Regions from separate parts of the Homo sapiens genome. Here regions 2, 3, 4 and 5 are each linked to region 1. Evidence: promoter capture Hi-C in 16 types of primary human blood cells and fetal thymus (Javierre and others, 2016). All regions are on one chromosome and are shown on one strand. Each heading gives the region's core, a stretch centred on a gene start or on the middle of the fragment in contact. The rest is flanking DNA. Distances are from core to core; before and after follow the strand shown. Region 1 holds the start of OXSM (3-oxoacyl-ACP synthase, mitochondrial). Region 2 overlaps UBE2E2 (ubiquitin conjugating enzyme E2 E2). Region 3 overlaps AZI2 (5-azacytidine induced 2). Region 4 overlaps CMC1 (C-X9-C motif containing 1). Region 5 overlaps CMC1 (C-X9-C motif containing 1).

Evidence for each region. Contacts are between HindIII fragments. The CHiCAGO score rates a contact against its expected background, and 5 or more counts as called.
Region 2: a fragment that was not itself captured here is called in contact with the fragment with the promoter of OXSM in region 1 in 8 of 17 cell types (naive CD8 T cells, fetal thymus, total B cells and 5 more); the score reaches 15.4 in naive CD8 T cells.
Region 3: a contact is called between a fragment that was not itself captured here and the fragment with the promoter of OXSM in region 1, in 11 of 17 cell types (non-activated CD4 T cells, activated CD4 T cells, total B cells and 8 more). The highest score is 18.4, in non-activated CD4 T cells.
Region 4: a fragment that was not itself captured here is called in contact with the fragment with the promoter of OXSM in region 1 in 2 of 17 cell types (naive CD8 T cells and monocytes); the score reaches 5.8 in naive CD8 T cells.
Region 5: a fragment that was not itself captured here is called in contact with the fragment with the promoter of OXSM in region 1 in 9 of 17 cell types (non-activated CD4 T cells, activated CD4 T cells, fetal thymus and 6 more); the score reaches 12.8 in non-activated CD4 T cells.

The regions. Positions count from the first base shown.
Region 1 is chr3:25,786,867-25,791,532 of GRCh38, forward strand. It overlaps OXSM (3-oxoacyl-ACP synthase, mitochondrial), which reads left to right and starts at 3,224. Exons shown (of 3, transcript NM_017897.3): 1 at 3,224-3,281; 2 at 4,124-4,666. The coding sequence starts at 4,155. It also overlaps a transcript of NGLY1 not described here. RefSeq lists enhancers at 2,703-3,232, 3,372-3,441, 3,452-3,521 and a silencer at 3,050-3,269. The HindIII fragment of the contact is 1,038 bases long and covers 2,558-3,595 here.
Region 2 is chr3:23,203,737-23,208,402 of GRCh38, forward strand. All of the region lies in intron 1 of UBE2E2 (ubiquitin conjugating enzyme E2 E2), which reads left to right. Among named protein-coding and RNA genes, the nearest start is that of UBE2E2, 2.7 kb to the left of the region's middle. The HindIII fragment of the contact is 223 bases long and covers 1,140-1,362 here.
Region 3 is chr3:28,342,983-28,347,648 of GRCh38, forward strand. The region is part of intron 1 of AZI2 (5-azacytidine induced 2); the gene reads right to left. Among named protein-coding and RNA genes, the nearest start is that of ZCWPW2, 3.4 kb to the right of the region's middle. The HindIII fragment of the contact is 728 bases long and covers 1,944-2,671 here.
Region 4 is chr3:28,318,055-28,322,720 of GRCh38, forward strand. It overlaps CMC1 (C-X9-C motif containing 1), which reads left to right. Exons shown (of 4, transcript NM_182523.2): 4 at 1,455-4,666. The coding sequence ends at 1,575. It overlaps AZI2 (5-azacytidine induced 2), which reads right to left. Exons shown (of 8, transcript NM_022461.5): 8 at 2,993-4,666. Among named protein-coding and RNA genes, the nearest start is that of ZCWPW2, 28 kb to the right of the region's middle. The HindIII fragment of the contact is 2,477 bases long and covers 1,556-4,032 here.
Region 5 is chr3:28,242,217-28,246,882 of GRCh38, forward strand. The region is part of intron 1 of CMC1 (C-X9-C motif containing 1); the gene reads left to right. Among named protein-coding and RNA genes, the nearest start is that of CMC1, 2.9 kb to the left of the region's middle. The HindIII fragment of the contact is 1,233 bases long and covers 1,549-2,781 here.

The sequences.
Region 1 (4,666 bases), core at 1,974-4,473:
GTAAGGATAAATGTTGATTTATTCATTCCATAATTCATTCATTCATCATGTATTTATGAAGTGACTACTAGTTGCTCAGCACTGTGAAGGAGACAAGTATGGTCCCTACTTTCATAGAAGTCATAAGTTTAGAGCAGTGGTTGGACAAGCAACAGCAGCATCAGCAGGAAACTTGTCAGAAAAACAAATTCTGAAGCTCCACATTTAAAGGTGGGACCCAGCAATCTGTGTGGTAACAAGCCCTTCAGGTGATTTTGATTAACAGTAAACTTTGAGAACTACTAGTTTAGAGGGAGGAAAATTTCACTGTGGGCTGCAGTTTCAGTGAGGGGGGACAACTTGAACAGAAGCCTTAAATTGAGAGGTTGAGAAGGTGAGAAAGGAGAGGACTTGCTACCTGTGAGAGACTCCCCACCCTCCTTAAATCATGTACAATATCCTAGTAACGTTTCCTTCTCAACATCTCCTGGATCTCTCCTTGCCATTGCCTTCAGAGCCTCGTGTTTCATCCATTCTTAACTTTCTTCCCTGTGTCCATTTCCACATCCTTCCAACCCACCCTGCTCATTTGTGCAATAGTGATCTTTCTAAAGCACCCATCTGATCATGTTGTTCTCCTGGTAAAAAGTTTTCTATGGCTCCCTCTATCCACATTCTAAAGTCAAATGGTGTCAGGAACCAGGCTGGTAAGTTAAATATTTTAAGTGGCTTTGTTCAAGACAAAGAGGAGTAAGAGAGACTCCAGTGAAGGGAATGAGAGAGTTTACCATGTCCTTTCTAGAGGAGTTTAGAATCAATAAAAGAATGTTGCACTCCAAATTATACCATGAAGGCTAGCATATGGTCTCTGAACTACGGGATTAAATCCAAAGTCCTCAGTATGATACCCCAGGCTTTTGTGATCTGGGCCCTGCCTTACTCTCATGCGTTTACTGTTGCTTTGTCCCACACTTCAAATTTGACATGGGCCACATATTTAGCTGTTTGTGGAAGATACCATGACACTTCATTTCTCCAGGCCTTTGTTCTCCTCCTGCCAGGATGCCCTTTCCCACCCAATTTACTAGACAAACATTCATTTCCAAGATGCAGTTCAAGGATCATTTCTCTGAAGCCTTTTCTGACTTTACGAGGTAGCACAGACCTCATTGTCCCTTTTGTGTTATAATAATTCCACTATAGCACCTGTTTCAACAGTTTGCACTTACTTGTTTCTATGGGTGTCTCCCTTTACTAGACCATAAACTTCTTGAAAGCAAGAGCCATACCTCTACTCATTTTTGCATTCAAACTTCAAGCATTGATAGGAAGAAAATGAGTGGTTGTTGAAAATAGCAAAAGCACAGAGATGAGAAAAGTTAGGGTCAATCAAGACATGTATAGTGAGAAAATCAGTTTGCTGGGTGGCAAGCTCATTTAATAGAGAATGGGAGCCATAATTGGAAAGATAGTTTTGAATCAGATTACAAAGAATTTAAGGCAAACCTAGGAAGTCTTAATAGGAGGGTAGGATAAGCAGAGCCCATTTGAAGATTTTGGTGCAAGAAGACACGATGGAATTGTAGCAGGAAATATGGTACCAAATATGTAAAGCCATTAAATATCATAAAATTTCCCACCCTTTTCCAGATCAAAGAAAAGGTGATAAGAGGTAGATACAAAAATGATGGTCTTTTTATTTTTCTGAAAGATTTTGTCACCTCTTAGCCAAGACGATTTTGTGATATTACAAAAGAAATAGCACATTAAAACTGTATGTTTCTTATGAGTTCAGCTTCAGAGAAAATATTGTAGGTATTTTCACACTATTATTTTAAAGACAGCAATGAAAAGAGATCAAGTTTAGGTACTTACTCATCAAGTGTTACTTTATAACCACATGTGTTTGTTTTAATTCTTCAAGAAACTCTACTTTGTCACTGAATGAGGATCAACTAGAGGTGACTGGTTAGGCCTGGGACGAAGGTCAAACTGAGCTTTGCTGAATTATTTTAAACAAAATAGATTTCCAAACTCATTTAAATCCAGGACCAACCTGGAAAGCTAAGCTTGACTCACATTCTTCTGTAGGGGTAGGAAAGAATGCAGAGCACTCTACTTGGAAACAATGGCTTCAAGAGGCATTGCCCAGAAAAAACCATAAATATGACTAGAAGGTCCAGATGAAGATTCTATGCTCAACCATTTTTCTAAAGAAGAGCAAGGACAAAACTCACGCCTGGGATAGCATGTGAAAAACAGATGTTCGATGAATACCATCTTGTCGACTTCTTGCTTTTTTACATTTTCATGTTATATTTTCCCTTTATCGGTTTGCAGTCAGCTCTAAGCAAACAGTTAATGAATTTTTCACACTTAGAAACAAATGTCTCCATTGTGACAATGGAGACAATTTTTGAGCACTGTCTCAAATCTGGTGATAATTTTTTTTTAAGTGAAAGGAAGTTTATTAGGAAAGTAAAGGAACAAAGAATGACTACTCCATAGGCAGAACAGCCTGGTGACAACTTTTAAAAAGTAAAAACTTTATTACAAAAACATTTGTTTATTGTAGAAAAGCTTTATTAAATAAAGCTAAGCAAAAATAAGGAGGGAAAGATCACAATCAGTATACATCTTGCAGACCTTTAAAGAATTATTTTTGAAAAAACGGATATATACTGTTTTGTAACTATGTCTCCTAACAAATAGTCGCAACATCTCATTAATAAATATTCACCTGCAGAATTATTTTAAACGGCTGCATGGCATTTGGATGTACCACAAGATACACAACAAATTTCCTGATGTTGGCCATTTTGGTTAATTCCACTTTACTCACAATTACTAATAACGTTGCGAGCTATAGCAATAACTTTGAAACTGCAGAGAATTTCCTTAATTCTTTCTTACAATTCCAGTAGAATACGATGGTGTCCCTTCTCCGACAAAAGGGAATATTTGGGCATTATCACTGCCAAAGAAAAATGCCTTTTTGATGGGTGAAAATGCTACCTCATCGCGTTATTGGCAGGTCCTCGATTATCGGCGAGTCACTGAGGTTCCGAGAGGGGCGTCTCTGCTCACGCAAACAGCTACCCAGCCGCCTCCCACGGTCTGACCTCAGCCAAGGTGACGCGGCTTAAAGTCAACCGGCGGAAAGAGAGTCGAACGGGACGCGTGCGTGGGAAAGCGCATGAGCGTACGTGCGAGCGCGCATGAGCGTACGTGCGTGTGCGCGTGCGCTCGAGAGCGTCATCGCCCCCGACTGTGGAGAAGTGTCCGGGGTAGCCCCGTTACAGGTATCGCTGGCTACCCTCCTCCTTCGCCCCTCCTTTCCTCCTTTACATTCAAATCAAGTCGGGGTTGAATTTCGAGAGGGGAGTCCGAGGACCTGGGGCCTGATTTCTTTTTCTCTCGCCATGCTTCTTCGGGCTGTGTACATGTGTGGTGGTGCCTGAGAGGCGATACAGGGAATGGCTACACTCTTTTACTCCCGCCCCTGGCCTTCGTAGTACCCTTGAAGTGATCCACTAGTCGTAACCCCTCCTTCCACCAATGATTCAATTGGAGAAGTTTAGAGGAGTGGAAAGACTTGTCCCCTTCCCCCATCGCAAGCTTGGTCACAGAGTGTATTGCCAACCCATGTATCCAGACGCTCAGTCTAGGGCTCTTGGCCCTGGGTAGCGTTTTGAAAAGGCTGGTTATCCTTAAGTACTGAAGATTGATAAAGCCCACTTACTTACTTAAAAGAATATGCCCTGAAATGTGTTTTCTGTGCCACTGACACCAGAAATGCTATTTAGAAGAAGTTATCAGTAATCCTGACAAAGGATGCTTCCTGCAGCTCAAATCAGGCTGGAGGTGCCTTTATATTTTTCATTGAATTACTGTTTTGGTGACTCGAATGAATCATCAATTCATTTATTTGTCTTCAAATGTCTGACGGCACTTAAGGTCTAAAAAAGAAGGTAAGTTTAAACAGATAGTTTGATGTTAAGGTATAAATTGAAAGTATGTAACATTTTCCCTGTGTTCATTAGCAGCTCATATCAAGCACCCAAAGGAACACCTTGGATGTTTTTCCTTAGGCCCTTAAGCTATTTAAAAGAATACCTCCTAGGTGTGTTGTGGTCTTTTACAGGAATGTGTTTCTGATCATCTGAATCTTAATCATGTCCAACTGCCTGCAAAATTTCCTGAAAATTACAAGCACTCGTCTTCTATGTTCAAGATTATGCCAACAGTTAAGAAGTAAAAGGAAGTTTTTCGGAACTGTGCCAATATCCAGATTGCATAGGCGAGTTGTCATTACAGGCATTGGCTTAGTGACTCCTCTTGGTGTTGGAACTCACCTGGTTTGGGATCGTCTTATCGGAGGAGAGAGTGGAATTGTTTCACTGGTTGGTGAAGAGTATAAGAGTATCCCTTGCAGTGTTGCTGCTTATGTGCCAAGAGGTAGTGATGAAGGTCAGTTCAATGAACAAAACTTTGTGTCCAAATCAGATATCAAGTCCATGTCTTCTCCCACCATCATGGCCATTGGGGCTGCAGAATTAGCCATGAAGGATTCTGGCTGGCATCCTCAGTCAGAAGCTGATCAAGTGGCTACTGGTGTTGCAATTGGCATGGGAATGATTCCTCTTGAAGTTGTTTCTGAAACTGCTTTGAATTTTCAGACAAAAGG
Region 2 (4,666 bases), core at 1-2,500, 2.6 Mb before region 1:
GTTCTCAGTTCCCCATCCTTCTCAACCCTCCCAGCGCTTTCCTTCTCCTAGCCGCATCCTGGAACTAAGTCTTTTCAAAAGTACAGGATAAATGTCACGGTGGAAAGTGCCCGGCTTGATCTTTTGCTATTTTCCCTAATTGCATAATTGCTGCACATGGTGTGTCTCCTGGCGAGTGCCGGGTTTGGCTCCTTCGCCGCCGCACCCCGGTGGCCCGCCCGGAGAAGACCTTGTGGGGTATATTTGTGTGTGTCCTGGTGAGGGGTGTGTGTTGTATTGGTCTTTTGTGATGCCTGGCGCTTGTCACAGTTTGGAACCGAAGCCCATTTTTCTCTGGTCTCTTCTCTGCAGCCCCCACTGGCCTGGTTTGAAACTGGATTCCCTCTGTCCTCTCCCCCTTCCCGCCCACCCCACTTCTCCCCCTCTTTTCTCCGATCTCTCTCATAATGTTTTGATCTTTTTGCCCTTTACCATTTCTAATGAAGATAAAGCGTGGCTTCTTGTGGCTTTTTTCCCCCACGACCAACCAGAAATGTCCAATCCATCTTCCCTTAAGGAAATTAAGGCTGCTTTAGAAAGACATCATCCTGTGCTCGGTGGCTGTTAGACCCATTTGCATGTTTTCAAGATTCATCGTTTTGTATTGTGTATTCTTGAGAGTCTACTAAAATATTTTTATTTAAAAGTACGAAAGGAAGTGCTAGGGTTTACCCTCAAAGTATCTCGCGGTTCTAAAGGATTTTACGCTCTTCTTAGTTTTTAATCCCTGATTTCTTTAAAAAGTATGTTTCTAGATATGTGATAATTCAGTCTGGACTTTGTGAATCTAAATATTTGCCTTTACTACGGCAATTTGGATGCTCCTTGGCTCTTTGGAATTCTGTATGTGGGCTGACGCTGAAATAGAGTGTTTTCATATAATGCCATACCCCATTCTCTTTCCCCTGCAGCACCTTTTACCCCCAAATCAGGTGTTCCACTGTTATTTTCTGCATAAATGTCTTTGCAGTTAAATTTAAAGCTGGATATTGCTGTGTGCATATACTATATATTTATTTTACATTTTAGAAAAGTTTAGAAACATGAGTAGGAAGACAGCAAGACATATATGACAGAATTAAACGCTTTCCTGTTATAAAAGCTTAAATGAACACTTGGTTTTGCAGTTTTATACTAGTAGATACTGTTATAAGGCTTACCTGGGTAGTAGGCTGGATTTATGGAATGACTATAGTTGCCTTTATGTAGTCAGTAATATTTCAAGCCAAATCATTTCATTTTTATGGAACATGTGAGTTTCATTCACTGTATGTTGCTAATTTCCAGGACTGTAATTACAACATAGGGTACATAGCTAATACAAGCTTAGACAGTTTGTGTTGAAGAAGTAACAATATGTAAGCCTCTTAATATAGTTTTAGGAAGGACTACTTATTTTATGGTTAAAAATTAAATTTTACTTTGAGTTATGAAGTAAGCGTATTTATCTCTCTCAATATCTTTGAAAGTATCATTGGAGAGTAGCTGTTTGTTTATAACCCTGGGATTTAAGTTTATCTTCCCTGTAGATGAGATAATCGGATCAGATTAGCTATTTAGGAATTAATTTTAAAATGCTAATTTAGAAGATAATGTTTAAAGGATTTTAATTCAGGAATTTTTATTCATTTGTACTTCAGAGAGACAAGACATCAAGTTTACACTTACGACTAATTAAATTGATTCATAGACTACTTTTTCTTCATAAAAATTCGTTGCACCTGAGTGGTACAATAATTTTTTTCTATACTTTTTCTGTAATCAAGCATTCAAAAAACAAACCCAGGAGAAATTCCTTTTATTATTGATATTTGAAAAAGAGATGTGAAAACTTTATTTCTAAAAGTTCCTATAGTGGTTATCAATGGCCTCAGATGGACTTATCATTTGTAGGTTAACATTTGGATGAAATATGTCTTAACTCAAAAGTGGGAATAATTCTTTTCCTTAATGTGAAACCAGAAATTACACCTCTGTTGGGGAATTTCTAATAGTATTTTTATTAGTTCTCTGGTGAGACTAATTTTTATTTTAATCTTCCTCTAATATTCGGCAGTAGAAATTTGAGTTTCAGATTATGGCTCAGATCACATCATTGAGTAATCTTTTTAAGTAATTATATAACTATGGCATTCGATAGTATGTAAATGCACATAAATAAGAATATTGAGAAGAATGTGTGGCTTTATAACTAATGTTATACACAACTGAAACTCTCAGCATAGTTTATTAAATCATAGTTTATTACGCTGAAGCTGCATCCTCAGTATAGAGAATATTATTTCATTGAGGTACCCATATATTTGTCATGGAATGGATTGCTCCTGTTTTAAAATGTATAAAATGATTTCTCACTCATTTCACATTTCTTAAGGTATTGCTGGCAGCATTTTGCTATATCTGAGCACCTTTCCCTGAGGATTGTTCTCTTTTTCACTCTCATGCATGCCGCCCTATCTGATATGCCATTATGTACATACTTACAAGATTTTAAACTTCTGATATATTTTAACTGAAAGAAGGTGAAAAAAAATATTAAATCCAAGAATGAGAATTTAGAGTGAAATAAAAATGAAAAAAAGCAAGAAATATGTTACGACTTTTAGAGCTAGATGTGAAACATACTGATATAAAATTTCAGTGTTCTATTAAGTGACTTTAGTGCTCATAAAAGATGTCACAGCTGTGGAGACTGGTGCTCTTCATTTACAGAATAGGTAGAAAAGTAGTCAGCTTTTCCGTTAGTATGTTTCAGAGCTGTTGGGGCAGATCTGTTTCTGTTTGGCATGGGGAGCTGTTGGGGTTGAAGGGGTGCTGGTGGTGGTGTGTGTGGTGTGTCAGTGAAAGGATTCACTATTTTCTGTTGACTCTTTGTGGCTCTGTGCTTCCTGATGCTTCCATTCTTTTGCAGTGCTTTTTGGTTTGTCTTACAAAAATTTCAGTCCATTAAAGATCGGTGTTACAACATTGCTTTGGCTTAGAGCAAGCTACAAGTTAAATCTTTAGTGATGATGAATTTTCATCAGTGTCAAATAGCTATCCATTTGGACTAAGTTATAGTAATTAAAAAATTTTGCTTTATTTGAGGTATCTTTACCTGTTCTTATTCTTGATCATATCAGAAACAGTTTTATTTCAAGTTGTAATTTGATTAAGAGTAATCAAAAGGATCCATTTCAAAAGGAATTTGTTCAGTGTACCTATAATTTTTAAAGATATATTTTTTGCTGTTAATGGTACTTATTAAGTATAGGTATTTTGTTTTTAAAAAGGTGTCTGAGAAGATAGCTATACAGTGCTGAAAGTGATTATTAGGTGACAAAACCATGGGGAGCACAAGGCCTTTTAGAGTCTGGGCATGAGTTTTGTTGGTTCAGTTCTGGATTTGTCAGAACACTTTAAGCTAGTCAGCTCATAAGGGATGTATTCATAGTCATCAAACTCAGAAATTGATTATGATAGAATGACAGTTGAGGAGAGATACTCCTTTTCACTTACTGGAATTGTTTGTGTCTGCTGTCTAGATTATAACAGCTACCTAAATATCAAGGTATTGAGGAAATTGAGTTGGTAATCAGAACTGCTTGGGGGGCCTGAACTCAGAGCAAAGGGAATTTGAAAGCCTTGAGGGATATTTTAGCCAGAATGTGGGGAAAAAAAAAAAAATCTTCAGTGTCTTCATCTCTTGTGAAATATGGTTGCTTTAGTATATAGCTGAATGCTGTCATATGGTTCAATTTTTATTTAGAATCATGCAGTCATGCAGGCCTCTGTGTTCTTCTGTTATCACAAAGGTTACTTAAAACCACTTACTAGTTTGGAGAATTTTAACCTTAGCCCAGCCCTGAGGATGTATTGATTGAATAGGGATTTGAAAGTGTCGTCCCATTTTTGTGTTCCCACAAGTATTTGTACTAACCTTCGTTTTTGTACTTAGCAAGTTGGCTAGTCGAGGTTTTTCACAGTTGTGGGACCAAAGGGCTTAGCACAGCGCCTGGTAGAGAGTAGACCCTTAATCATTTTTGTCTTATTTTCTGTAACAGCATTATTGATATATAATTCACATACTATAAAATTTACCCTTTAAAAATGTACAACTCTGTAGTTCTTAGAATATTTATTATTAGAATTGTGCAAGATTATAATTATCTAATTTAAGAACATTTTTATCACCGCACAGGGAAGCATCATACCCATTAGCCGTCACTCTTCACTACTCTCCCCTCACTCCCTGGCAACCACTTACCCATTTTATTTTTTTATTAATTTTTTTTTTGAGACAGGGTCTTGCTCTGTCACTCAGGCTGGAATGCAGTGGTATCAATCATATTTTTATTTTTTGTAGAGATCGAGTCCCACTACGTTGCCCAGGCTGGTGCTCCCTGAGCTTCCCAAAACATTGGGGATTACAGGCGTGAGGTTCACTACTGAATTTTATGTTTATGGATTTGCCTGTTCAGGACATTTCATATAAATAGTCAAACAGTTTGTGGTCCTTTGTGGCTGGCTTCTTTCACTTACCAGAATGTTTCAAGGTTCATCCATTTTGTAGCATGTAGACACAGTACTTCATTCTTTTTTATGGCTAACAGTACATTATGTGAATATACTACTATATTTTGTTCAT
Region 3 (4,666 bases), core at 1,058-3,557, 2.6 Mb after region 1:
GTATTTTAAGGATTGGGCTCACGCACTTCTGTTTTACACAAACTTCTAACTAGCTCAGCTGGGATTTACTTGTTCATTTTTATCATGAAACAATCATTTACACAGCAAGGAAAACCCAGAGAGGCAGAGTTGTGCAGAAAAATTATTATTATACCATAAAGGTAGGTAATAAATTTGAAACAACAGAATGTTATGGGGGGTCTGAGGGATGGGGAGAAAAAGTGGTTTTCAAAGAAGATACCACAAAAGAGCAAATGTCTCTTAAGACTGTACTCTCATGTGAAGAGGATGGTTATTTTCATTGTACTGTACTTATTGTACTTACACCTTTACAGTTTGTTAACTTCCAGCAGGGGAACAAGTTCAAAGATCTAAGTGTGGGGAGAAAGGTTGAGAAGAGGAGTGGCAGGAGATGAGATTAAAAAGGCAGGATGGAGACAAACTGAGATGGTCCTTCCTGGTAGAGGCACTGTGGATTTTGGTGCTTATTCTGCTGAATTTTAAAAACACAGGCCTGGACATGATTAAAGGGTGTGAATACTTACAATGTTGATTTTTTTTTTTTAATTCACAACCAGTGAACTACTTAGCATTATGCTAAATGTTTACAAACATTATCCCATTTAATTCTCAAGACTACCCTATGAGGTACAAAATCTTATCAAACTCATCTCACAGATGAGAAAACTGGGACCTGGAAAGGTAAAGAAGCTTAGCTAGGATCACTTAATTAGTATGAACCAGGACTTGGATTTTAGAGCCTGAGCTATTAATATTTTCCCCTCTCCAATGAATCTTTTACAAAATCTTACACTCCTACAAATCTAGGAACCCCTCAGAAGGCTTACAAAAGTACTTTACATGGAAGGGGGTATATTGATACAATAATGTCACATTTTATACAACATGATAGCTAGTCATTTTTAAGACAATATGAGTAGTCAGACTGGTTTACCTATTGATATGCTACCTTTTTATTTATAAATCAAAAGTTGCATATATTATGTAAGAAAACAATGGCATAAAAGGATTTTTCAAGTTTTATACCATTATTCTATATATTTATTCTATACACTATAAACATTACTTAGAATACGCGGAAAAGCAGCATCAAATTGCTTATCTGTCCTAAAAGTTATGTAAGAAATAGCCATATATTAAAACACACAATGTGCTAGCACCACATATATGTATCAACTTTTATTGTTTTAAAATAACTGTCATTTAAATTTGTTATAAAATGGAAAATTAAAATTTTAATTACTATCCCTGCAAAAATTAATATGAAATCACAAGCATGAGAATATTAATACTTATCATATTAGTCTGTACAAACCAGACTTCTGGAGAGTAAAAGCTACAGGTCCAGGGAAAATGAGATCATAGAAAGGAAACAATACAAGGCAGATATCCCATTATATTTATTAATATAATGAAAGGAAAACTGTTAGCAAAGTAAAAAGTAGGCTATGTGTTGCCTTTGGTGTTATTGCTACGCAAGCATCCTTTATAAAATGTATTTCTACAGAGAAGTAAAGGGAGCTGTGGTAATCAGTCTCATAATAAAGATTCAGTTTTAAACACTTTTGTTGCAATGAAATGGCTGTGTGTGTGTATCCAAATCAGCTGGCCCATGAAGTCTGATTTTCTAGATAAATGGTAAAAGTGTAACTGGCTATTATTCTATTTGACAAACTAGACCAAGCTAGTTATATCATTTAACATTTGAAGAAACTTAACATTATACTGAGTCTTATTTATCATAATTTAAATGCTCTTAAAATAATAAATCTTTGTTAGCATTAATCTTTAAAAAATAAGTGCCATGAGCAGAATATTGTTATCAAAAATTAAAATTACCAAAGACTAGATAGTATTTTAAATAGTCTAGCAGAAACTGAACTTTCAAAACTTAACAAACATCAAAACACTGTCCAAAGACAAGCTTAAGTGGACTTCTCTCAGTGATGAAAATCAGTAATAAATGTATTCCACAGGGACATTCCATAAATAAATTTTGCTTTTCCAAGGGCATTCTAAGAAGCTGGAGATGACTGAGGGCAGTGTTTGACAAAGGTGTGGACCACTGCCTTAGAATTCCTCTGCATTCTGTTAAAAAATACTGATTCCTAGCTTCCACTGCAGATCTATGCAAATCAGAATATCTGGGGTGAAAAACTGCAAAGTGCACTCTGAATAAGCACCCAGGTGATTTTAAGTCATATTCCAATTTGAGAACCACTCATCAGAAAGAACAAAGCCAAGCAGTTACCACGTAATTTACAGAATTCCAATTCTTAGTATCCTTGAACATTTGTGGGCACAGTTAGTTCTATGTTATGAATTAGTAAACACCCTTTAGATTTTATTTTTAATATTATAGAAAGTAATTTCACATTCATCATCTCATCACAATATAGTGGGGTGTTAAATAAAGCACATTTATAGGCAAATGTATCTATATGTACTCATGCAAACATTTTATATATTTGGCAATTAAATTTTGTTTCTCCTTAGAGGTTTACTTAAATATAAAAAGCGAATTAGAAAAGATTGAGGTAAACACTATTGACAATTATTTTTGAGAACAATGAAATTTCCAAGAATGATAAAAAAGAAAGGGCACAATTTGTCAGATAAAGTAGGTAGAAATAAGAACAGTACTACCTGAAGCTTGGGGAGAAACACAGGAAAAAAAAGATTCAAACATTATTTATTAGAATTATTTTAGAAGATCTTAAATTTCAGTCTTCATCATGGCAATCAACACCAAGAGAACTCTCAGTTGTTCATATGCTACGTATGTCAAAGTTTGGGATACTAGAAAACATATCTGCTGATATCAGACTGGTCTTTTTTCTAGGAATAAATATGATTATCCTGTCATATTTCATCATCTTTATATCTGCCATTTTCATATTTCATCATCTTTATATCTGCCATTTATTGATCACTTACCATATGCCAGTCACTAGTGCTTTCACATGCATTTTTCTACCACTTAGCTAAGTACTGTTATGAAGAAAGTCTTAGAAAAGTTAAATACCTTACCTATAGCTACACAGCTAATCAGTGGCAAAGGTGAGATGTGAACCTAAGTAAGCTGTCAGAAGTCTATGGTCTTAATACAACATTCAAAGAGGCAATACAAAAGGGATTCTGGTTATCCTAAGAATATGGACAAGGCATAACTATGTCAAAAAGAACACTTTCCCAGGATTCAGAAACACAGATTCTAGTCTAGGATTTGCAACCCTGATTATAGTTTAGTTCGCTTTACCTCTCTAGATCAAAATTTTCCCACCTATACAGAATGATAGGGTTAGACTACATCACTAAGATGCCACCTTACTAAACTGTGAAGGCAAAAGTTTAATACAAATACAGAACAATGGCAACCTAAACAGAGAGAAGGGAATTCACATTTATGCCAGGAACTGCATAAAAGGTATGGTACACACATTATCTCAAGTCCACACCAAACTTGGCAAGAAAGGTATTAGCACCATGATAAATGGGGAAATTGAGGCTCAAAGAGGTGAGGTAAATTCACCTCACCACAGCAGTATGTGACAAAACTGAAGTTTGAATCAAGGCCTATATGGTAGGCTCTTTATTCCATATTGCCTCCTGAAGTAAATCATATTTAGAATTTTCACCACCTTTCTACCTCTGAAAAGTTAGGATATTCCCGAACCTATTTCGTACAATCAGTCAAAATACTATGGAGCAAGGATTAAGTCTTACGAAGACGAACAGACCAATGCTTATTCCCCTTTCTCAATTTGTAAAATAGCCTAACTAGTTTATAAAGAAGGGTCATCAAGTACCTCTTTTCAAAACATCATCTCTTAATCTGTGTACATTAGCAATAAAAAGCCCTGTAATTCAATAAATGTCCAAAAATGTACTCAACATTAGATATACAATATGAAGAAAAACTCCAGTTCCATTTTTATGACTCTTGAGTTATCCAACAAACTGCGTTAGTCCAGAAATCAGTTTGTATTGCACAGATCAAGACTCTTCCAGAGTTAGCATAGGTATGAAGAGCAGTCTACTTCTTTTCATCCCTTTCATACAGTAATACCTCTAATGCAACTAAGCATCTACTATACATTCAATGTTACTGGTGTTATTGAAAATTATTTTCTAACAGTGATAAGGCAACTATACTTGCACTCTGAATATAAGTGCCATAAAAAAGAAAAAGATTGGTTCTATTACTTCATGGATTATAAAAAAAACTTCAGCATTTTACTTAATAATAATGACAAGGTTCTGCATTGGTAATTAATAGTAGCCAAGCGTTTATGGTATACCAAGCAGTGTGCTTCACCTTTTGGAGAAACTATCTCATTTGTTCTTCATAAGCATTCAGTAAATCTATGTAATACCTCTGAGGTTGTAAAGAATCTCCTCAGATTACAGGTGGAGAAATTGAGACATGAAAACATTAGAAAGTAGGGGAGCCAGAAATGAAAATCAGGCAGCTGACTCCAGAGCCAGCATAACTCTTAGAAACTATGCTTTGGTGCCTTAGAGTATGTATTACACCCATTTCAGAGATAAGGAAAATGAAGAAAAAGTTTAGCCTCTTACCCATTGTCAAGTAAATGGAAAAATCAGCATTCAGATACTGGTGTTCTGACCTAATCCAGTGTCA
Region 4 (4,666 bases), core at 1,544-4,043, 2.5 Mb after region 1:
CTTGACTTTGAGTCCCCAGATACACTAAGAAATAGTATTTATTCATCTTTAAATAAGAAGGTGTTCTGCTTTGTTAATTACTATTGACATTTCCATGAAATGAACGTAACTGCTATCCTCTCTCATTTTGAAACATTGTTTTTGCTCCTTTATTTCTACCTCTTACTTTCATTTTTTTCCTTAATACACTATGATCTGATTTCTGTCCTCACATCACTGAACCTGCTCTTTTTAAAGACTCTGATGGGCTGATGGTAGACAAATCCAACAAATTGTTCCTTTTCTTTTACTGGACCTGTCTCTGGCAATCCCTTCTTAAAAGTCTCCTCTGTCTTCCCTGATAATATTTTTTCCCATTTTCCCAAAATCTCTTTGTACTTCTCCATGTTTTTAATCTACTCCTTAATGTTGGTGATTCCCCAAGTTCTCTTCTCATTCTTAAATCTGAGGAAGTTTAGTTTGCACCCATGAATTCAATTACTTACTATAGAAAGTAACATTTGTTTCTTTGTTCAAGTCCAAAAATGAACTGGGCTCCTTTTGCTCGTCCTACAACGTGTCTTTGTGAATTATACAGTAGTCTAGTATCTACAGTCTTGTCTCCTAACTCTAATTGGTTATTTCCTATTGATTTCTGAAATTTCCTGCACATCATCTCTTCCTTTTCATTCCTACAGCTCCTCCTTTGGCCTGCGCCTTCCATCATTTTTGCCTGGATTATTTTAACAGTTTATTGGCTATCTTGCCTCTAACCTTGCTTGCCTCCTTTTGTCCTATCTGCCACATGTTGTCAGATTCATCCAAGACACAAAACTGATCTTACAGGTGAGGTGCTCTATTAATTGTGCCCCATTTTCTTCAGGATTGATTTTAATTTCTGAGTATAGCATAAATGGCACATCATGATTTGACTTTTGCCCATTCCATCTTCATTTCAGGCCTTTTCTCCTATGTGCATAATCTGCTATAGTGGTACCTATCTACTTGGCAGGTTTTCCTGCATTAATTTTTCCTCATCCATGTGTCTTCCCACACTTGCCTTCTATATGGATTTCTGTTGGTCTTTCAAAATACAACGCAAGCATTTCCCCTTGAAACCTCTGCCCTCCCCATTTCTTCCTTGTTTCCATGGTGCACTGGGCCATACCTCTGTCACAGTATTTTGTAGATTTAATTTTAATCCAGTCTTTACTTGTCCTTTACACCGTGGGTTCCCAGGACAGGAGCTGTGCTTCTCATTGCTCTATTCTGTGACAGTGCTATATAAAAATGAATGATTTGGTCTTTAGTTTGGTAGCATAAAGTTAACAGTGAATTTTTAACCATTACTAAAAGTGTACTTCTAAAGATTGAGCCTGATGAACCAGATGTCTGAATATTAGTAATTAAAGTAAGCTTACATTTAACACATGCAGGATTATTTACTTGAAAATATTTTCATTTCCTTCTCATAGCTATAATGATCCAGCCTTTTATGAAGAATGCAAAATGGAATACCTGAAGGAAAGGGAAGAATTCAGAAAAACTGGAATTCCTACAAAGAAAAGGCTACAGAAGCTTCCAACAAGCATGTAGGCAGATACTCAAATGACATTCAGGAACTCTAATATTCATGGAAGTCATTTTATAGTCCTTAAATAATGGACTCAAGCATATATGTTTGCTTTACCTTAATTATGGAAATATTAACTTTATCTGAAATAAATATTTTATTTCAAAGTTTTGGTTTCTTAAATGGGAAAGGAGTAGTTACTGAATTGGGATATGGTTTTCCTGGTCATTCTGGACCTTTTGAAAGTTTTCCCACAACTATAGTTCTATAACAGTGATACTGATTTTTTAGAGTTCAATATGGTCCTTATATTATTTTTTTCCAGTGTATATGCTAATGGCTAATCATGGGAGCCAAAACTAAAGAAAAGCAGGAATGGACAACCTTCAAAGGTGTTAATAATAACTAGGCAGTATAGCAGAATGGCTATGAACCAGAATCCTTCCTGATTCTACCACTTATTAGCTATACAGCTGTGGAAGTAAATCTAATACAGTTTGTGAGGATGTACTGAGTATTGCATATAGCAGGTACACGTACAGTGTATAAGACAGTGCTTCAGACCTGGTACATGCTCTTATATTGGTAGTTACTGTTAGTAGTAGTAGAGGCTTATTTGGAAACTATCTTAGTCCATTTTCTGTTGCTATGGGAGAATACCCAAGACCAGGTAATTTATAAGAAAAGTTTGTTTGGCTCACAGTTCTGGAGTTTATTTGCCAGCAGCTTCTGGCAAGGGTTTTCATACTGCATCAAAACATAATAGGGTGTAAAAAATAGAAGGACAAACAAGTGTGGGCAAACTTTTATAACAGCCCGCTCTCTTGAGAACTAATACCTGTAATAATGGCATAAATCCATTCACGAGGGCTCCAGCCTCATCACCCTATTACCTCTTAAAGGCTCCATTTCTTAGTCCTGTTAAATTAGCAACTAAGTTTCCAACACATGAACTCTTGGGGGACACATCAAACCATAGCAGAACCATAGATAAGGAGATACCTACTTATATGAATTAATTTTACTTACATCTTTGATGTAGAATTTTCTAAAACATAATGTTCTTAACCTGATAACTTGTTAGTCCTTTAATCTTTCATTTTGAAAAGTTATATTTCTAAGTGAATTACCATTCTGTAACATAGTAATGGACTCAGGAAGTAGTATAAAAAATTTATGTCCCAATTTAATAATTTGAGCTTTTATATTAAAAGTTATTTTTTCCCCATGAGCTGTTAACTCTTCCACAGCCATTGTAACTAGTTTCAAGATAAGTAAATTTTACGTATATTTTCACAGTCCTCATTAAAATCACAAATAGAAATTACTACCCACTAAGACAAGGTTTAACTTTCCCTAATCCCATGCAATAGATCTGAGAGATTTTTTTTTAAGAAAGAATTTAAATAGGACACTAAAGAATCAATTCAAGTTCCACACTTTACTCTTGAGTGAACCACTCAAAAAACTATTTTACTTTTATTTGAAATACAAAGAAACCACATTTTCCCAGGCCACAGATCAAAAGGAGGGAGATTACTAGAGCAGACAAAAGCAAAGCAAATATAGAAATCTAGAGACCACACAGCATAGGGGCAAACATGCCCATATTTCCACATTGACCTTTGGTATTGGTGCATTTCCTAGAGCACAGGAAGTTAACTGTTTTTAGAGATAAATGAAAATGGAAGAGTTACTTTAAGAAGCTAGTGAAATATACAATCTATTTTATAGCTTTGATTAAAATCAGAAGTAGCCCACTTCATGTAGAAAATTCACTTATGTACATGTTGCTTTCCCCATAGAAGCCAGATTAGATTACACAGTATAAATAATATGTTCATCCTCCTTATGTCAAAGACTAAACCATTCATTGTAGCCTTCAGAATACCCATGTGTATCCATACTGAAGATTTTTTTCACCTGGTACATCTGTCTCAGTTGTGTCTTGCTTGCTTATGGGTGCCTCTGTTGATATTATTCCCTGTTAATATGTGGTAACCCACAGGTTTTTTACCCCTTAAGATACACCTTCTCCAAGTAGCCTTTCTGAATTAAGATCAGTACTTTGTTGTCACATGATTCAGCTCTTCAAGTCTGAATTTTCCCATTTATTTTGGTTTTCTAATGTTTCACATAGGCATGTTCCTGCTTTTAAGAATTCAGTTCCATTTTGGCAGCAACTCAGTAAGTCTTACAGATGTAAATTTTACTTTAGCTAATAAGGGAGCAAGAGGAAGGAATAGGTGGCTTTTTGTTATGTTTTCTTCATTCTGTCGATTTATGGATGTACTGAATTGAACCTTATAAAAAGAAATCTAAAGATTCCAAAGGAAGCTCTTTAGAGCAAGTTTCAGCTAGTATGAAAGAAGTCAACATAAAATATTCAATTTTAAATAGATTCATAAGCTACAGATGGGCCACTGTTTTTTGGTTGTTTGAATTTTACCTAGAACAGAGATATCAAGTGTAGATTTAAAAGCTTCTAGCTGGGTAAAAAATTTTTGGCTAATCTTTCCTTACTAAAGAACCTTATACATCATTTGTCTAACACTTTAAACTGTCACAGTCACTGACTTTTTAGTATACCTGTTTGATAGCTATCATCACTGTACTGTTTAAATGGAAAATAATTTTCTCCACTCAAAAGCTGGTTTAACAAATGTCTATTGTATGAATCATATTAACAACCAACAATTAGTACTAGATTTTGAGATCTATAGGCAAGGACAATATTTCACATCCACTTCAATTTCAAACAAAAATATTTATTTTAATTAAACAATTTCTTGGTATTGTTCAAAACATTAATCAAGCAATTATCTCATAAGACTTTTTTTCTTTACAAAGGAAAATTTCCAATTTTGGTTTTAAAAAAGGCAAACCAGTAAGCTACATTAGAGATCAGATATAATATACAGCCTATGCAGCCACATGAGAAATAGTTTTTGCTGCTTTGTTATTACACAGGTAGTTGCTTCCTTCAGCTAAAGCCTGGAGTATTGTATTTCTTTTATGCATATTGGGTTTGGTTCTATTACTTGGCAGGAGATTGTACTCCCCTGAGTCAGCTGTGTTCATTGGTCAGAATAAATTCCAGCATCTGACACCAAT
Region 5 (4,666 bases), core at 915-3,414, 2.5 Mb after region 1:
CCTTGTAACCCAACTTAAAAACATATTTCAAAGGATCCATCACTATGGCAGGAGTCAGTTTCTTTGGAAAGGATCTTCAAAATCTTGAATGTTGTTTTAATCTCTTTGCTTCCAGCCACTTCCGTTTGCAGCAATAGTTAACTTACCCTCGAATTCCCGTCCTTGTGGAAGGTCACCTGCAGTATCTTTGCGTTAGGCTATTTTTGCAAGGGAATAGATAACATTTTTGGAGGGAATGGTAGTTGGTCTAGTCCATTTCTTTCATTTTATGGATACAAAAAGTCAAAACATTGAGAGGTAAATGGCGTCAAACTTGGGAGATTCAGAAATGGAAAATGCTCTTTCGGAGCCTTCAAGGAGCATGGAAAATATATGTAGCACAGAAATAATGTTTTAATTGAACATGTTATTACCATGCTAAGTGTTCTCTATTATCCAACAATAATATGTGGTATGGTAGGTCCTTTTAGCTCCATTTTACAGATTAGGAAACTGAGGCGAAGAGAAGTTAAGTGACTAGTCCAGCAGGTAGTGGTAGATCAGGGAGTACTCTAATTTGAAGCATAGAGGAGTTCTGGAACATAATGATCATATTCATTTTGGACTAGGTGGTTATGAAGCAGTTAGCAGTTGATCTGGGCTTTGAGGGATGGAATTTCCAGTGGTTGGAGCTGGAGAAGAGGCAGCCCTATGAGCAAAGGTTTAGATAGTAAGGTGCACTGTGCGATGCTTGGTTTCAGGATGACTACCATGATTTGGTTCTTGAGGGTAGAAGGGGTAGAGTATAAGTGAGGGGTGAGTAAGGAAGGTTCAAGTTTAGGCCCATATAATTTATGGTATCTTTTTTTTTTATTTTACTGAAACGGAGTCTCACTGTCGCCCAGGCTGGAGTGCAGTGGCGCTATCTCGGCTCACTGTAGCCTCCGCCTACTGGGTTCAAGCAATTCTCCCACCGCAGCCTCCTGAGTAGCTGGGATTACGGGCGCCCGCCACCACGGCCGGCTAATTTTTGTATTTTTAGTAGAGATGAGGTTTCGCCGTGTTCGCCATGCTGGTCTGGAACTCCTGACCTCAAGTGATCTGCCTGACTTGGCCTCCCAAAGTGCTGGGATTACAGGTGTGAGCCACCGCACCCAGCCTAATTATGGTACTTCTGAACTTGAAGTGACCTTTAAAGTAATCTCATACGGATGAGGAGACTGAGAATGAGAGAGGTTAAAGATTTCCATATATCTACACTTTTTGAATTTAGACAAGGAAATTTGGGAAAAAAGTCTTCATACTTGCTCTCTTCACTTGCTTACCTTCCAGTTACTCATAAGCCACTCCAATCTTGTGTTGTACCCAAGGCCACACAGCTAGTTGCTGGTAGAGTCAAGTCTGGTTAGAACCTAGGTAATTTCATTTCCAGTCCAGTGCTGTAGACCATGCCACCTTTTGAGTATTGATTAAACAAAGACTTGTTGAGTGTCTGGTATATGTCCCATATTGTTCTGGACCCTAGGGAACAGTAGTACATAGGACAAACAAAATTCCTGCTCCCAATAAAGCTTATCTAGTGGTAGAAAAAACAATTAACACCCCCTTTTCCCCCTACACAGACACGTGCGTGGGCACACACACATACACACACACATTTTTACAGATTGTGATAAACATGAAGAAAATAATGTCATGTGGTAGATGGTGAAGAGATTAGTCAGTGAAGAGCTTTATGAGGAAGTGTCATTTGAATTGGAATCTGAGGGATGAGAGGAAGCTAGGCAGAGTGTGCTTGGCCATCAGGTAGCAAATACTTAAAATATTTAACTTGAACGTGGGTCAGAGTGTGGAGGGGATCCATAAGGAAAGATATTGGGAAAGTAGGTAGTCACTAAATGCCTAGATATTGCAGAGGCTGCAAGTCCTCAAAGGCTGGCTGTGATAATAAAGCATTTGGATTTTTTCTAATGGCATCAAATGCCTTTAGAATCTTTTAAAGAGGGCAGTAACATAATTTATGTGTTTATTATCCTCGCTACAGTGGTAGCATGCATTGTAGAGGGGTCAGGTCATAAGTGGAAGAAGGGAGACAGGTTAAGGGATAGGAGCAGTAGTCCAGGCCAAATATGTTTGTATCTTAGCCCAAGATGGTAATAGACAGATGGAAAGAAATATACAGCGTCATGAGGAGAAATTGACAGGACCTGTGGTTGCATTGAATAAGGATGGTGAGAGAAAGGGAGGAAACAGTGGGCACCGTGGCTCATGCCCTTAATCCCAGTGCTTTGGGAGGCCGAGGCAGGCAGATCGCATGAGCTCAGGAGTTTGAGACCACCCTGGGCAACATGGTGAAAATCCATCTCTACTAAAATACAAAAAATTTAGCCAGGCATGGTGGCACACGCCTGTAGTCCCAGCTACTCAGGAGGCTGAGGAATGAGAATTTGAGCCTGGAAGGCAGCGGTTGCAGTGAGCCGAGGTTGCGCCACTGCACTCCAGCTTGGGCCACAGAGTGAGACTTCGTCTCAAAAAAAAAAAAAAGAGGAAATAGGGATAATTCCAGTTTTTGTACGTCAGCAGCTGGGTGGAAGGTCATGGTCAAATCTAACAATGTGATTATTGGAAACTTCATCAAAGGAAGGAATGGAAGCAATGGAGAGTAAAAAAGTGGAGTCAGCAAGTAGGAAGGTTTTTTTTTTTTTCCCTAAATTGTTTTGTCTGTTTAAATTCCAGAATAAAATGTATGGAAGCCAGTTTTTTTTTTTTTTTAATTTCGTGTTTATTTGGTTCATACGTTGAAGCTTAGTTTCACATTTTGATGTTTTACTGCTTTGTACAGCCCACGATGGTATTTGCCCATATTGAGTAAGTGAATAATAGATACACCAATTGAGGTTCATTTAGCAAAATCTGTTTTCCTATTGGTTTATTTTGTATTTTCTGTGATCTTTATAGAAGCTTGATTTTCATTTGGCAGCAACTTTTAATTAACTTTGTAGGGTCTCTGTTTTCCTCAAGAAACTGTGAACCCAGCGAAAAAATGCAGGTTACATGCTTATACATAGTTTTATTTACATTATTTTCCTTTTTTTTGTTAATGTAGCAGTAATAACAGCAATCTTTGCTTATTGCCATGTTCCGGACAAATTTTCAGACATGATTATATTCTCAGATGATGGCCCATAGGAACCTGCACCTGATAAATTTGATTTTTCACTTTCTCTATCAACTAAAGTAATTCCTTTCTCCCTTCTTTGACCTTTCCCCTTTTTAGTTAGGTTCTCTTCCCTCTGTCAACATAGATTCATTCTCTACTTATGCAGAATGGGGCATGGCAGCCTAAGGGAAGTTTCCTTAATCAGGTGTGTGTGTGTCCCTGTGTCCTTCTATTGCTGTTTTTTTCCGGGAACTTAATAAAAGGAGGAAGATGGGACAGAGATAGGGCTTAGGGGGTGGAAAGTGGGTTCAAGAATTTCATGACATTCCATGAGAAGGTGTTTAAGGTATATGTGTCTTGGGAAGATTTAATTATGGATGTTCTTGGAACATTTGGGTTGCAGTACTCCAAGTTGGGGTTCTTTCAGTGGTTCCTGTGGGAATGTAGGTAAATTACCTTTAGGGGTACAGGAACAGTACTAGCCCTTACATTTACTAGAAAATTTTAAGTTAGACATGTAAACAAACTTGAAGAATCTTTTTTGAGCATTGTATGTTTAATATGTAAAAGGTTGTGGAGTTGATTAGAAAAATTTTTTATTTTTTTTAGTGATGGGGTTTCACCATGTCGCTTAGGCTGCACTTGAACTCCTTGCTCAGGAGCACTTGAACTCCTGGGCTCAAGTAATCTGCCCACCTCGGCCTCCCAAAGTGCTGGGATTATAGGCATAAGCCACCCTGCCTGGCCTATAAGAAAAATTTTGATTTTATTATTGCCGCCATATCTCTAGAGTATCTTCTTAGACATAAATTACGTTGGTGGCTCAGAACAAAAAAAAAAAGACCTAACATCTACATTTTGTATATTTATAAATTAAAAGCATATTTGCCATAGAAAATACATTATTTTTGTCTCATCGGATTAACAACTCTCTGATGGTTGCTCTGTGAAATTTGAAAAACACAGGCTTAAGCAAAGACAATAAGAAAGAAGAATTGAGATCAAAGAGGAGTATGTGCCATGGCAGTGGGTTGGGGGTTGGGATTTCAGTTTTGAAGCATGAAATGATCTGTAAACCATTTCAAGGATTTTGAATTTTATACTAAGAACAATGGGAAGACACTGCAAGTTTTTAGGTAACGGAGTGACAAACAGAACTCTCCTTATTTTGTGTTGATCTGACTTTTGTTTAGATCAAGAATAACCTTGATCTCAGCCACATACTGCATACATGATGTGTCTTTCCAGAGTATCCCATCTGGAGGTACATGGGTATCTGTCTCTCGTAGGTGATGTTAATTTTGATTACCCACTCAAGGTTTTGCCCTGTTTTGTTGCCGTATTTTCTCTGTTTTGCAATTAGTAACTAATCTGTGGGAAGGTTAAGACCTTGTAAATATTTGCTTCTCATCAAATATTTCTCTTTGATTTGGGGTCCATTGATTTTTTTTTTTTTTTTTTTTACCTGATTCAGTCTTTCCCATAATGGTTGCAAAATAATGATTTTCTACCTCCAGCACACTCCCT